Regions from separate parts of the Homo sapiens genome. Here region 2 is linked to region 1. The links are contacts of gene promoters, found by promoter capture Hi-C in human tissues and cell types (Jung and others, 2019). All regions are on one chromosome and are shown on one strand. The core of a region is centred on a gene start or on the middle of the fragment in contact, and the rest is flanking DNA. Distances in the headings are between cores, read along the strand shown.

What was found. The method cuts DNA at HindIII sites, captures the fragments that hold promoters and counts their contacts. A contact is called where the count stands out against the background at its distance.
Region 2: a contact is called between a fragment that was not itself captured here and the fragment with the promoter of ROBO1 in region 1, in 3 of the 25 tissues and cell types used here (H1 embryonic stem cells, liver and pancreas).

Annotation. Positions count from the first base shown.
Region 1 is chr3:79,763,003-79,769,530 of GRCh38, reverse strand. It overlaps ROBO1 (roundabout guidance receptor 1), which reads left to right and starts at 1,533. Exons shown (of 31, transcript NM_002941.4): 1 at 1,533-1,779. The HindIII fragment of the contact is 15,501 bases long and covers 1-6,528 here.
Region 2 is chr3:79,800,211-79,807,283 of GRCh38, reverse strand. No RefSeq gene overlaps it. Among named protein-coding and RNA genes, the nearest start is that of ROBO1, 36 kb to the right of the region's middle. The HindIII fragment of the contact is 3,008 bases long and covers 914-3,921 here.

The DNA of each region.
Region 1 (6,528 bases), core at 284-2,783:
AACTCTCTTCTTTCACCTCTCAGTCGTGTAAGAGTTAACTCTGTTTCCTACAAGGATGCAATCTGTAAGTTAGGTCTGGAAGGCAGCAAAGGCAACCTGGACTTGAAGTTAACACTTCTGTTGTCAAGGGTTACTGATTGGGGGAAGGGAAGGGGCTGTAAAGGGAAAGAGTTACGGAAATGAAGAGGGATTGTAGCACACACTACATAAATTCAAATGCTTTACATGTATTTGGAATAAGATCTCGAGTCTGTTGTATTTTTGCATTGTGTTTTCATTTATTTAGTTTACACATAGGTAGTGAATTTATAGGTTGGTTGATGTTAACCTTATCCAGAGTGGCCCTTTCCAACAATGTTCATTCAGTTGTACATTACATATATGTAATAATTTTGTAATTAAATTGGAATTTATCACAATTATTTACATCAAAGACAATAAAATTATGTTACTTCCTAAATTATAATATCAGTAAATATCGTATCTAGGATTTTGTGGAAAGTCTATGTCATTTTAGTTTAAATAAGGATTTCTCTTTTCCTCCACAAAATTAAAGGTCAAAGAAAACAGCATGTTTAAGACTTCAAATTAATATATATTAAGATTCAGCATTTAATATTCTAATTCTTAAAATAACTGGCTTTACCGATGATGAACTAAAGTGATTTTGCACACTATTACAATATTTCAAATTGCTAGTCACCACAGGTCGGCCTCACTTTAAATCTCCTTGTTATGCCAATTTGCATTACTAATGAACTTGCTAAGAGAGAAACTGTAAAAAGATAATGTAGCAATTAATAGTAAATGCTTGACATACTGTGACATTATAATACCTTTATGTTGATTTATATCTTTATGTCAATATTTACAAGGAAAATATTTTTGAATTTCTAATTTTGCGAAGTAAAAATGATGCTGACGCCATTGTCATTGATGGAATTTTTTCTGTAGCATTTGACTAATATAACCCGTGTTTTATAATTGGTAGACTCATATTTTAGCTTCTACTATCTACTACCCATGTAAGGTATTTTATTTGTAGTAGCTATGAATTGTAAATACAATTGGGTGTTGTGTGTACCTACGTGAAGTGCAGAAGTATTTGATTATATAAAATTTCCTGGATTTATATGAGAATAATGCATAATAGAGAGCAAAAGAGGGTTTTCCTGCCAAAAGTGTCTGTGTGAATTTTCCTTCGAAAATGTTCTTTTAAAATCCTTTGTATGATCAAAGCCACTCCACACAGACAATTAAAAGCAGCTATGGAATGATAGATCACATGACAGGAGTTAAATGTAAGGGTTTTTTTTTTTTTTTTTCCTCCCCCCTCGGTTAAACATCGCAGCAGGCATTACAATACCAGAGGTAACGAATCAATTAAATCCATTTTCCCCTCGGCGTCTCCAAAGCTGCGTGCCTAGTGTTGCTGTGTAGTTTAGACCGGAGCAGTAGGACCCAGGGGCCTCCGCAGCCACCAATAGAAGCGCACACTTGGACCTATTTGTATGCAATGCCTTCTGCTCTGCGCATTAATAGTAATACAGATAACGGGTTTGAAAGAATTCTCTACTGAAGAAGGATTGAATTTTTCCAGGGTGCTGATACAGAGAAGAAACCCGACTTCACTCTCTCCCTATTTCCCCACTCTTAGGTTTAAAAGTCTGTCACCTTTCGCTTGGTTTAAACTCGGAAAGGTCTCAGTGCACAGCAAAGTTGCAGGGCTGCGTCTGCACTACGGAGCCTCTAGATTGCTGAAAACAGTCTTATGGAAGGGTAAGTCTCGGAAATGGTTGCAAGGGAAGTGACAGCTGGCTTTTGATTTGTAAAAGGGGACACGCTGGGTTTTACACTAGTGGTTGTTGGAGTGCAGAATGGTTGCCGAGAGGACTCTGCAGTTTATCCAGAAATTGTGGCTGATGCGCCAGGGTGTTTTGGGGTAGAATCAAAAACCTTCAGGCTAAATCGGAAATTGCAGCCTTGCGATCGGGAGGGATTCAACAAGTTTTCCTGCAGGGATGCGATGTTTGTTTCTTCCTTGCCAGTTGTGCAGAGTGTCCGTTCCAGGTAGGCTGCGGCTGCTTAACAAAGAAGTTTTGGAATTTGTTTGTTGTGTGTGTGGCTGGGCTAACCCTTGTTGGAGTAGGTTTCGTGCCGCTTTTGGCTTCTTGGGGGCACACAGCGGAATTTGCTCTAGGGATGCGGCGAGCATCAGCGGTGTAGTGGGCTGGGGCCGGGCAACTTTGCAGCCTAATCTCAGTGCCGCTGACCGCACCGTTGTTCGTGATGTGAGCTGACTGAGGCATAGACACGGGCAGGCTGCAGGGAGCTTCCAAACTTTGAAAGCATTCTCCAGGAATGGATGCGCGTGGGGGCTTTGAAAATAAGCGTTACTAGGTGGATTTTGGTAAACTCTTGGCGGTATGTAGGCAGTGGGGACTTTTGACACTTGCATTTCCAACCTGCAGGATTTTGCTTGAAAACATGGTGCTGATGTGAAGACGAGAGCTTAAAGCTAAGCCAGCGGGGACTTTGAGGGAGGAAATGAGGGAGGGAAGGAGGAAGAATGAGAGAAGACAGATGAATGAAAAAGGTGCGTCCCATCTTTCACACACAAAAACCACACGAGTGGGACGAACCAGGAAGCGCTCCAGTTGGTGGCGTTTAGCTGGAAAACGTATTGCAGGGAGGTCCAGGAGCCTCTGCATTATTGATGAAACGCCGTGCCCTTCTGGGGCCCCTTCTTGCTCCTTCTCCCTGCCCCATCTTGCCAGCCCCGCTTCCATGAGCCTTCGGTTCCAGCGTTGGCGCGGGTGCGGCTGCGCGCGCGGCTGGGTCCCACAGCTCTGAGAACACAATGGGGAGAAGCAGGCGAGCCCTGCGGGCGGCCGATGCGGAAAACTCGGCGTGGCAACCCCACTGCTGCAGCCTGGGCTGCCGCTCCACCCGGGGCAGCGGCGCTGCAGAGACGGCTTCTGCCCAGTTGCCACGCGCCCTGAGGTCTCGGAGGACCGCGTGGAGGGCGCTCACACCTGGCCGCTAAAATCCTGGGATACCCTTCTAGGAGTCACTGTGTCCCACGCAGATGGGTGGGGTGGGGGAGACGGAATGCTAAGACATCCCACTCCTGCCTCGAGTCGGAGCTCCCACTACTCAAATATCCTTAGTGTGCACCCCAAGCATCTAGAGGACCTGCGCCCCCAAGAAAAAAGGACACGAAGGGGGAAAGAAGGGAAATGTTGATGAGGCTGCAAGAGGGGAAGGAAAACAAGCAATTTAGGGCAATTATGGTCAATGGTCAGGCTTTTCTGGGCTCTTTTAAGTGGATTGATTTAGAGGAGCTTTGAAATGCTGTCCCTGGCCTGTCTGCGGCACTAAAGGGGGCAGATTTCCAGACGCAGGAACTCACTGGAGGCTCCTTCTATAGATGAAGGGAGGAAAGGGCAGGGCAGGAGGCTCATTTCACAGGGTAGTTTAACCCTGACCTCAGCACCTCCCACCCTTTCACGCCCCGCCAAGGAGTGCCCCGACCTTGTAAACTCCTCTGTGTCATCTGCCCTGTGTAAGTGATTTTCATCAAGCTGTGTGTTACAGAGGCCTGTTAAGAGATGGTTGTCTGTTTCCAAGTAGTGGTGGGAGGTTGTTTAATTTGGAGGTTGCTTGTCAACCCGGGCTGAGCGCACAGAGGAAGGAGCGTAGATGCAGGACCCTATAGAATGGGCCACTTGGGGTTGTCAGTTACTTGAAGGCTACACATCAAAGGAAATATACTGATTGAGCACCTGGGGGAAGACAATGCCATTTCATTTTTTCCTCGCTTTCCATGTGCCTCCTTTACTGTGGTTGTTTGGGAACTAGGATATAATAATTACAAAAAAAAGTTGAAAATCCACTGATTTATTTGGAAGCCTCATAACTGGGTTTTCAGGCCCAAACTTGTATTCTCCTAGCAGCTATTATTTTGAAAGCCTCAGTCTGACACCTTAAAACCTGCTTCTCTACTATATCTTGAGGAGGCACTGGTAACTTTCAAAGGCAATCTGTAAGCATGCATCATGTTGATTTTGTTAAAGGGAAGAGGCAGTGTTGGTAGATGTTCCATCAATATTTGCCCTTCCAAAATCGGCCCCCACCCCCCAAAAAAAGGAAGAGGAAGCAGCAGCAGCTCGGAGCAGATATCCAGTTGGTAAGATGACTTTGTTTCTTATGGACCTATACCTCTCCCATGAGGGATAAAAATTAGGATATCTAAGGAGTGGGGGCATTCACCTTATATTGTTGCCACGGTTTTTGGACTTCCTTTAGCCTTTTCGCACATATCTTCCTGCTCCATGCCTCTTCCAATTTAGCCCTGTAGGAGCTGCAGAATTGAAGCACAATGACACAGCTGCAGATCCCTGGTGGAGCCTTGCTTCAGAAAACAGCTGTTAATCACATGTTTGTTGTATTTTCCTATTTACTTCCTTTTACTTCCCTTCGCTTCCCTTAGCCTGTCCTTGAACCAGTGTTACCATCTTCTGGGCTCTACTCTATGAAGGTTAGTGATTTCCAGTGATATAGCACTGAGCTGAGCATGGGAGGAGGGGAGAGACTCAACAGCTGCCTAGGGAGTCCCAAAGGTTTAATGCCAACTTTCTCTTACCCTATACTGCACAAAATAAAGAACAAATACCCTAATATCTCCCCAAAGAGAACTGCATTGTTCTGTATAATTTTCTTTTATCTTATAACATAGTAGAATCAATTCAAATACAAAATAACATTGACCAGAGATGAAAAGGAAGCTATACACTTGTGTGCACTATTTGGAAAGTAGTGTTGTGCTTAGCTATAAAATCTCACTTTTTGGCCTTCATCTATACTTAATACATTAGGAACTACTTTTATTTAAGCAAGATTTAATGTATTACTTTCATTACAAAGCTGAGAAACTCTAGACACCACAAAGATGTGAATTTTAAATGAAAAAAAGCAAGGCAGTAAAGTAAGCCCCTGGCAGCTTGATGAATGAGCAGGTGCAATGCACCATTTGAAATGTATCTTGAGGTGAGCTTCCACCAATCTGCTGGAGAATGAGCTCCTTCTTGCCACCTAAACTCAACTGATTTTCCTCTTTCTGAGACCACAGACAAAAACATGATAGCATACAATAGGCTAGATTATGACCTGGTCACATAATCATTTATCTCTCTAAACTTGCTGTTGAAGTGAGCAATGTTACTGTTAATGTATTCATATTTGTACCTAAAATATATTAGTGCCAATTCTCCTAATTCTATAGGAAATTGAGGTCCTAGAAGGCTAACTGACTAATTCAAAACTACATAGGATAAAACTGTAGAAACAGTGTTAGTCACCGTACCTGCAATAGATATTTCACTTAATCCCCACATAACCCTTTCAAAGTAGGCTTTATTAGATGTCTACAACACATGAAGAGAATGAAGCTCAGAGAGTTTAAGGAAAATAGACATGACTATTCAGCCAAAAAGGGGCAGAGCCAGGATTAAAAACAAGTTCTTTCTCATGACAGAGTACATGCTTTTCTAGTATGTCATACTGCTGCTTTTAAGGGAGCCATTCTCTTCAGTTAACTGGACCTACCTATTTTCCCCCATATTTAAACAAGGAGTTTGATTATTCCTTGAATTTTATTTTAGTACTCATAATTTTTTAATCTCCTTGATATCTTTTTCATGTCCAAAGCATTATCTGCATTTCTCCAAGAGCAAACTTTTACAGTTACTTTCCAAGGATCTCATAAACAGTAAATAACTTTTTCAGAAAATATACCCCACCCCTATCTGCCACCCTGCCTGTATCATCTCTGGGGGTCAGAGCACTTGGGGAAAACTGAGGGGCTTTCCATTTTCTTTGAAATTTGTGCATATGTAGCCAGGATGCCTGCTAAGGATCCAGTACGTCAGTTTCAGCCAGTTGTTCTTTTCTGCCTTTCCATTTCTGCACACGTGTCTTCTCTAATCTGCAAAATTATCTTCTTCATTTGGCCAAACCCTATCCATTTGTCTAGGGTGGTTCATGTTCCTTCTCCACCATAAAATTTTTCTTATTATTCCAACCCTATTGCTGTTCCTTACCTCTGAAATTCCAAGTAATTTCCAATAACATCTGCTGTCTAATTTGGTCTTTATTCAGGGATTAAGAGGAGTAAGCTAACATTTTTTGAGCCTTTACCTTATATACTTTTACATACATTATCCATCAACTATAAATTTCTATTTCTTCATTATATTTCTGCATTTTGCCCTTATTATTTTTTCGCACTCGATAGTCACCCAGATGTTGTGATACATTTCCGGAGTTTCAGTAATGACATTCAAATTTTATATTTCTTGTCCATGCATTGCTCCTGATTGTCATACCTATATTTCCAAAGATCTAATTTCATCTCCACCTAGAAATGCATCACAAGCATTTTAAAGGAAACTGTCCTAAAGGAAAGCATTCAAAGCCACAGGTATCATCCTCCCTGCCACACTTGCTTATCTCTTTAGATTTCCAAGT
Region 2 (7,073 bases), core at 1,168-3,667, 37 kb before region 1:
TGCCACTATGTTATGTGCTAAATAAATCGTAGCTATTTGTTTCTACCCTAATTCTAAAATTATTTGAGGCATAAGTATTTATTTTATTATTGGTTTTATTGTTATCATTGCCATTATTAGGCAGAAGCAGTGGAGTATTCTAGTTTACATGGATGATAATGGGTGCCATACTATATGGACAAATAAAACCGTTTGTAAATATAGACCAATATTTACCACTACCTAGAAAGCTCGCATGATATTTTATTCTGACAAAGTACTTGGTAGATTCTTTACGCCATTATTTATGTTCGTTATAATCCGTGATGATACTCTTGGCCTACTTTTAGTTGAATACATATTTTTGAGGATTTTACTTCAATGTTGATTATCATAGGTGTGAAATTCACAGAGATATTTACGTTATCTGTATTTGTCATTTTGCGAAAGGTTTATAAGATTTCTGACTAGCCTTTACTCCAATGTCATGAAACAGTGAGTAACCCCATAACCCTGGTCTTATTAGCCTCATGGTTAGCAAAACTAAATTAACTATCCAAGAGTAAGCTTACGTATGTATAATGTTAATCTAAAACCATAGTTCTTTGGGGCAAATTCTGTGTCTGATCAGTAATCTATCATGCTTAAAATAAATTGGCAACTGATCATGCCTCTACCACACGTTATCCCTTTTATGATAGTGTCTCTTATCTTTTCTACCCAATATTATGTCTTTCTTCTGTTTCATTCATTCTGCACATTACTGTTAGATGAATCTTTCCAAAACACTAGTTCCATCCTTCAAGACAAAACTCATATATCACTTTATCTGCAGGCCTCGCTGTGCTGCTTCTGGTTTAGGTATGCACATTTATATTACATTATTGTAACTTAAAGGTTGTATTGCAATAATTGATTCTAGACTACTCTTTAACATTGACTGCAGGGTTTGTGCAAGAAATGTTTATAGATAATTAATATAAATCTCCCAAAGAGTCAATATCTTCCCACCTTCTAAAGCGTAAAATCTATAATTTGTTACTGCCTTGCAAATCAATAAAATTCTGACCCAATTTATTTTATTCAATCTAGACTCATCTCTATCCCCAATTTTGTCACACCCTCTGACAATCTGGTCTTTGTCACATGATTTCCAGACCTGTAAATACTTTCCAACACCAAACACTTTTTTGAGAAATAAATCAATTGCCACATACTGTGTGAAGCATTTCCTGACCTTTCTACCATGCACTAATGTCTCGTCTCTAAACTTTTAAGCATGTAGCACAGTGCATCCAAGCTTGGCGGCTGTAGTCACTGTACCTGAGTAAAAACCTCTATGATTAGAGCAAGCTAACTAATATGTTATTGATGCAGTTACCATAGATGTTATCAGGAATGAGAAGATGCCTAAATCATAGCATGATGCTTAAATAAGATAAAGCATCCAGTAAAATTTAACTATTGTCATCACACTAAATGCATAAATTTAATATATAATAAAAAGTGCTTTCTCAGTCTAATACAACGCATTTTTTTCTAATAAGACTGTGAGCATTTCAAGAAGAGCTTACACTTCCTTTGTATACCTCAAAAAATGAAAAGAGGTTCATTCTACTCAATCCTTTTTACTGTGGGCCAACAAGTTAAAATGTTTTATAAAGTAACTGCTTAGTCCTTTTAATATTATGAAAGTCATTATCAAAGCCATTACTTTATTATTTCACCCATATATTTACCAAGAGCTCAAGATTTGGCTTCAAATCTACAAAACCGTTGATTTGGGTATTTTTCTAAAACAGTTTGTGGCACCATTTGTAAGGCTAGGTCACTTTCTTCCCATGGATGTATATTCTCTTCTAATTGCATTCATCAATTTTAAAAGCATAAGTATTCTAATATAGTTGAAGTCTGTTCATTTCTCTTGGCTTTTTCAGCAATAATAATGGAGAGGTTACATCAAATATTGTTTAATTTAATTTCCATATGGTGTTTGCTGGAAAACTGCAAGAGGTTCATGTAAGAAAGGTAAGTGCTTTATTAGAGGTAATATTTTAGTAATATGTACAAAGTAAGAAAATTGAAATAATAAGAATTTTACTAATAAATTCTTCTTTCATTATCAGCTGAGATAATTTTTCATATCAAAACAGAATCAGTAGCACTAGGAAGAAACAAAAAGATCATTTCAATACATCTTTACATGTTTTTGTAATTATGAAAGGGGATTATTTATTGAATGTTACAGTTAGAAGGAATCTTAATTATATAAATAAACATGTAATATGAACTTAATAATATCCCTCTTTTATATACTATGAAAAATAATTTTTTATTTTAATATATTTTCACTTATCTTCAAATATGTCATTTTAGAGTCTTATTTTTCCAGTATTTATTTTGTATTAGTACACATTTTGCCTCAATAGAAATTCTGTGAAAACCTGTAACCAGAATTCACATACAAACTTAGTTTTCAAATTGAAATTCTAAGCACAATCAAGGTCATTTAATGTACTGCTTTGGAAGGAATCCAGAAAAAGAGTGTGTCCTTTAGATTTCCTGGAAAATACCTCTGTTTCTGTAGAGGTAATGAAAATAGTTTTAGAATTATAGAATATTATAGTCTCGTTTACATAACCCTATCATTAATACATTATCAGCACTAAATTATGTAACGGCTAGCATAAATGTAATAATAAAATTTTTATTAGTTGTAGGAGTAAGTCTGTCTTAAAACAGGCTATGTACCATCTAAAAATGAATTATTATTTGGGAATTTTGATATATGTAAGTCTATTTTATGAAAAAGGGTCAACATTTAATGTTATTGTCCTTAACATCCATTTTGAAATTCCCTGGAAAACTTACTGGATTGTTCTGAGCTATTATTTTTCCTTATAGCTTGCTTTCTTAATTTTATCCATAACTATAAGGATTATGAATATTCATTTTGGTAATAGTTTATATGATTCATAAATAGTATGAAAATGATAATCCTCTTAATTATGAGCAGCCTGATCATCATTCTTTAGTGTCAGTGGTATAGACTTGGTTATTACACGTTCATTATTAATCTTTAAAATAAATATGTCCATCTTCTTTATGGACATTAATCCTATTACGATGATCTGTGGATTATAAAAACAGACCTCTGAATCAGGATGAAAAGAACCTGAGCATTAAAGAGGAAATAAATAAAAGGGTATTAGGAATTCAAACAAAATAACCAGAGATAATTAGAAAATTGAAAGTGAGGACAAAGTTCAAAGTGGAAAATTAGTAAGAACCTTCAAGTCATATGAAAATAACAGTCCAATGTAAACAGAAAATTTTCATTAGTAGTGCAGAAATAAAAATCAGAAGACTGAGGCAAGAGGAACTTACAACTAAAATAAAGCTTCCTTATAACACCATTTATTTTTCTCATCTGAACAATGCTGCACACATTGATTTCTAGAACAGATTAATTTTCTGAAATCCCCCAAACAAATGTGATCTTTCAAGAGCTAAAACAGCGTCCCATTTGCCTGAACCTGTTCTTTGGAAGTCTTTCATAATTAATTCCATTTTGTTTGACTTGACAGTAGATCCTAAAGTGATCTGCAGAATAAACTGTAGCATAACTTTTATCACCCACGTTGATGAAACACAGTATGAGCATACAGAAGTAATTAGTGGCAGGCTAAAAATTCATGCCTGTGGCTTAGAAATCTCAGAATTCAAAAAGGGATATAGTAATTTCATCCTATCTTTTGCGTTCTCCCAGAAAAATAATCCCAGGCTTCTTAATTCACAGGCAGAGAGCTTTTGCTAGTCACTTTAAGATAACATAATTTAAGTGAAAAGTTTAACTGGACTCTTTGGAGAGAGTTTTCTTTGCATTTGTAATTTTTCATGGAATGTTAATTTTGCCATTCATCTTTTTTGTTTTTCTTTCTGTCGTTTTGTTATTTATTTAAAAAATAATTTTATATAAATAAGAGACAGGAAACACTGGCATGAGATGGCAGATTTGAAGTCTCTTGAACCCAAAAAAAGCAGCTTAGTAATATTACTTTTTAAATCCCAGGTAACTCTACAAAGTCCCTTTAAGATTCTTGAATTATATTCCTCATTCTGGTACAATTTAATCTTCTTGGCTTTAAACTCAGCTTCTAGGACAGAATGACAGCCTCAGATCCATAATCAAAGTTTCTGGTAACTCAGCAGAGCCACAGGCCAAAATTCTCTCCCATGAGAGCAATGGGCTCAGACTCAAAGACAGCTCAGGAGATAGATTGCAATAAAGCTACTATTTCTTTTTCAGAACTATTCATTCTTAAATAAGAAAATGTTTGCGCTAAAACTCATGATCTCTAAAGCATAAAACTTCCTAACATTTTCCAATACTTCTAAACTGTCTAGAGGTTGAAAGGAAACTAAGTAGGAAAAATTCAGAGTGCTTTAATAAATAATTGTTGAATAAATGAATGAATGAAAAGCTTACCTAAAGATGATCACTTAATGACATTATTCAAGCTGAATTTGGTTGAAAAATAATGCATAGCTTAAATATCCTACAAACTTCCTTAGAAGGAAGCTCAGTAGAAAAAATCAAACATTAGTATAATGATATTCCCTTTATATTTGCCTACTGATCAACTAAAGAAGAAAACATATTTATCTTCTACCAAAGCAAGATTTCATCAGTCTGAAGCTCTCAAACTCCCTTATTTGATCATAAATGTTGAGAAAATATACTGTGCCATATCAGAATGGAATTATCTAAAATAAGACTTTTAGGACATAGTGGAATTGAGTCTTGACACATTTCATTTTTATGCAGCACCTTCTGATAGCCAGTATTATATAGAAACCCAAAGCCACTTGAAAATAGGACATGAACATAGAGCCTCATCATTAGAAATCCTATTCTACCATATAGAAGCAAGTTGAAACACACCTGGTACCTCCGGATACTGAGACTAGAGAATACAGAAATTAGGGCATAAGCAAGAGAGAAATGGTAAGTTAAGGGTGATTTTATTTTTAACTTCATACAGCTTGAAATATGGCAATTTTCCTATCAGTATTCTATACTAAAATGAATAGTTTAATAATATACCTTAGCTCTAGAAGAATAGCACTTATCTAAGGGATATATGCTGTTGCTAATAGTACAAGTTCAACCTTTTTCTCAAATAATGCTGTGACCTACTTCTCTTCAACTGCTGTGGTTCATGCAATATATGTCCATTGCAATATCCCGTACCATTAATGGCCATGACTGTAGGAGTATATGTGCTAAGTAGTTCATAAGTTGAACTACTTCTAGAGTTTAGACACCCATCACATTGTAGAGACCTTAGTTAACATTATCTAGTGCTGCTAAAGCAAGGTCCACAGTCATTGTGGACCATCACTGAGTTCCATGACTGAGACACCTCATTCCCATATTCACTATGGTACATGCATTGATGAATCTGCCTCATCCCGCAATGTAAAAGAGATCCCCATTGGTGATAATATCCTATTATGGTAATTTGTTTAACACACATCAGCCAAATGACAATTATGCTTCAGTCAAACTAGATCTTGGAAATGCCAAGGTAAAATATGACCTCGGTCATGTCTCTTAAAGAGATGTCGGATTTTCACAGACTGATCTCGCACACAGCCTTTCAGTGAATAGCCTGTCTTAATTTACAGCTTTAATAATGATTTTTACTCTCCTCTCTCACAACCGCATTGTACGTGGGTTGCTAACTCTTATGATGAACTCAATATTTTGAAAAAATAAAATCTAATTTTATTTAAAAAAAAAACACATTGACTTCTCAAAGTTCTAAGAAATTACTGGAGCCTAGAACATGAAGAAAAATAATTTCCTTACTTCCACTTCAAAGATGCTTCACTTTTCTTTTTCATCCTTTGAGTAAGTTTTTAAAATTACATTTAAACATTAAATACCTTAATGATGAAGATGCACTTCATATGCTTTCATTTTCCTTCCTGACATTTTGGCTATAAAAATCCTCATAGCCTGTATGAATCCATTTAATGAGAGAAATGAAGAGGACTCTGTAGTTTTAAAGAAACAATAAAGAATTGTATTCATAAGAATTTTTGTATCTGGCGAATGGAAGTTTGCAGCTCCTTCCTGAAACTTCCTTACAAAGTCACCCATCTGTAGCCAATAAAAGAAGGCACATGTTCTCTCAGCTTGGCAAAGTTGAATCACAAAAGGTGAAAAGATCACAATCCTAGAAGAGAAAGATTGGTTCTTCTAGGAATCGAAAAACACTAACAAGCAGATGCATAATGACATCTAGATAAGTCTAAAATGCCCTCTGAGGTTGCGTACAACATTTTGGACTCTCAAGTCAGGAGCGAAGTGCTTTTTCAACCTAATTTCCAGTGTGAAGACTTTTTGAAAGAACTGATAATATGTTTTAGTTTTTAAAAACAATCAGTCCTAGGGCATCCAGACACAAAGCATTGGTGTCCTGGCAGAATGAGAAGGACTTCTGCATTGCACTGTGACCCGATGTGAGGAGTCAGAGAACCAGTAGGGTAAGGAAGGCTTCTGAAGGGATGAGGGGAGTGGTAGAAGTGATGGGAGATGTGTTACATATGGGAGGTTTGTTCTCTTTCTATGTGTACATACATTTAAACACAGAGCACAACACGAACACATACACATGTTTATGCATGCATTAGTGGAGCTATGACTTTTTGAAGAAAAGCCTGATTTTAGGGCTAGGGCAGGGAATGGCAAAGATTAATCTAACACATCTTAATGTTCCAGAAGCAAGAAAGTGAAAGAATAATAGAGACGTGTTTGTACATACACCCATGTACATTTGTAATTATTGACATAATTTCAAATTACCCCCCCAAAAGATCATAGTAATTACAAAGGGTAAAAAAAGAAACTTGACAGTTGAGAAGCACGGAAGGCAACAGCTTAACCAAGTGATGGAAGTGAACATTATCCATAATGCGACAAACCAAAATTAGGCACCATCTGATAGTTACTTTCAAATTTTTTGGAGGCAGAGAACTCTTTGTCACATACTTACAACTTACCCTTTAGTTTGAGATTTTTCAAA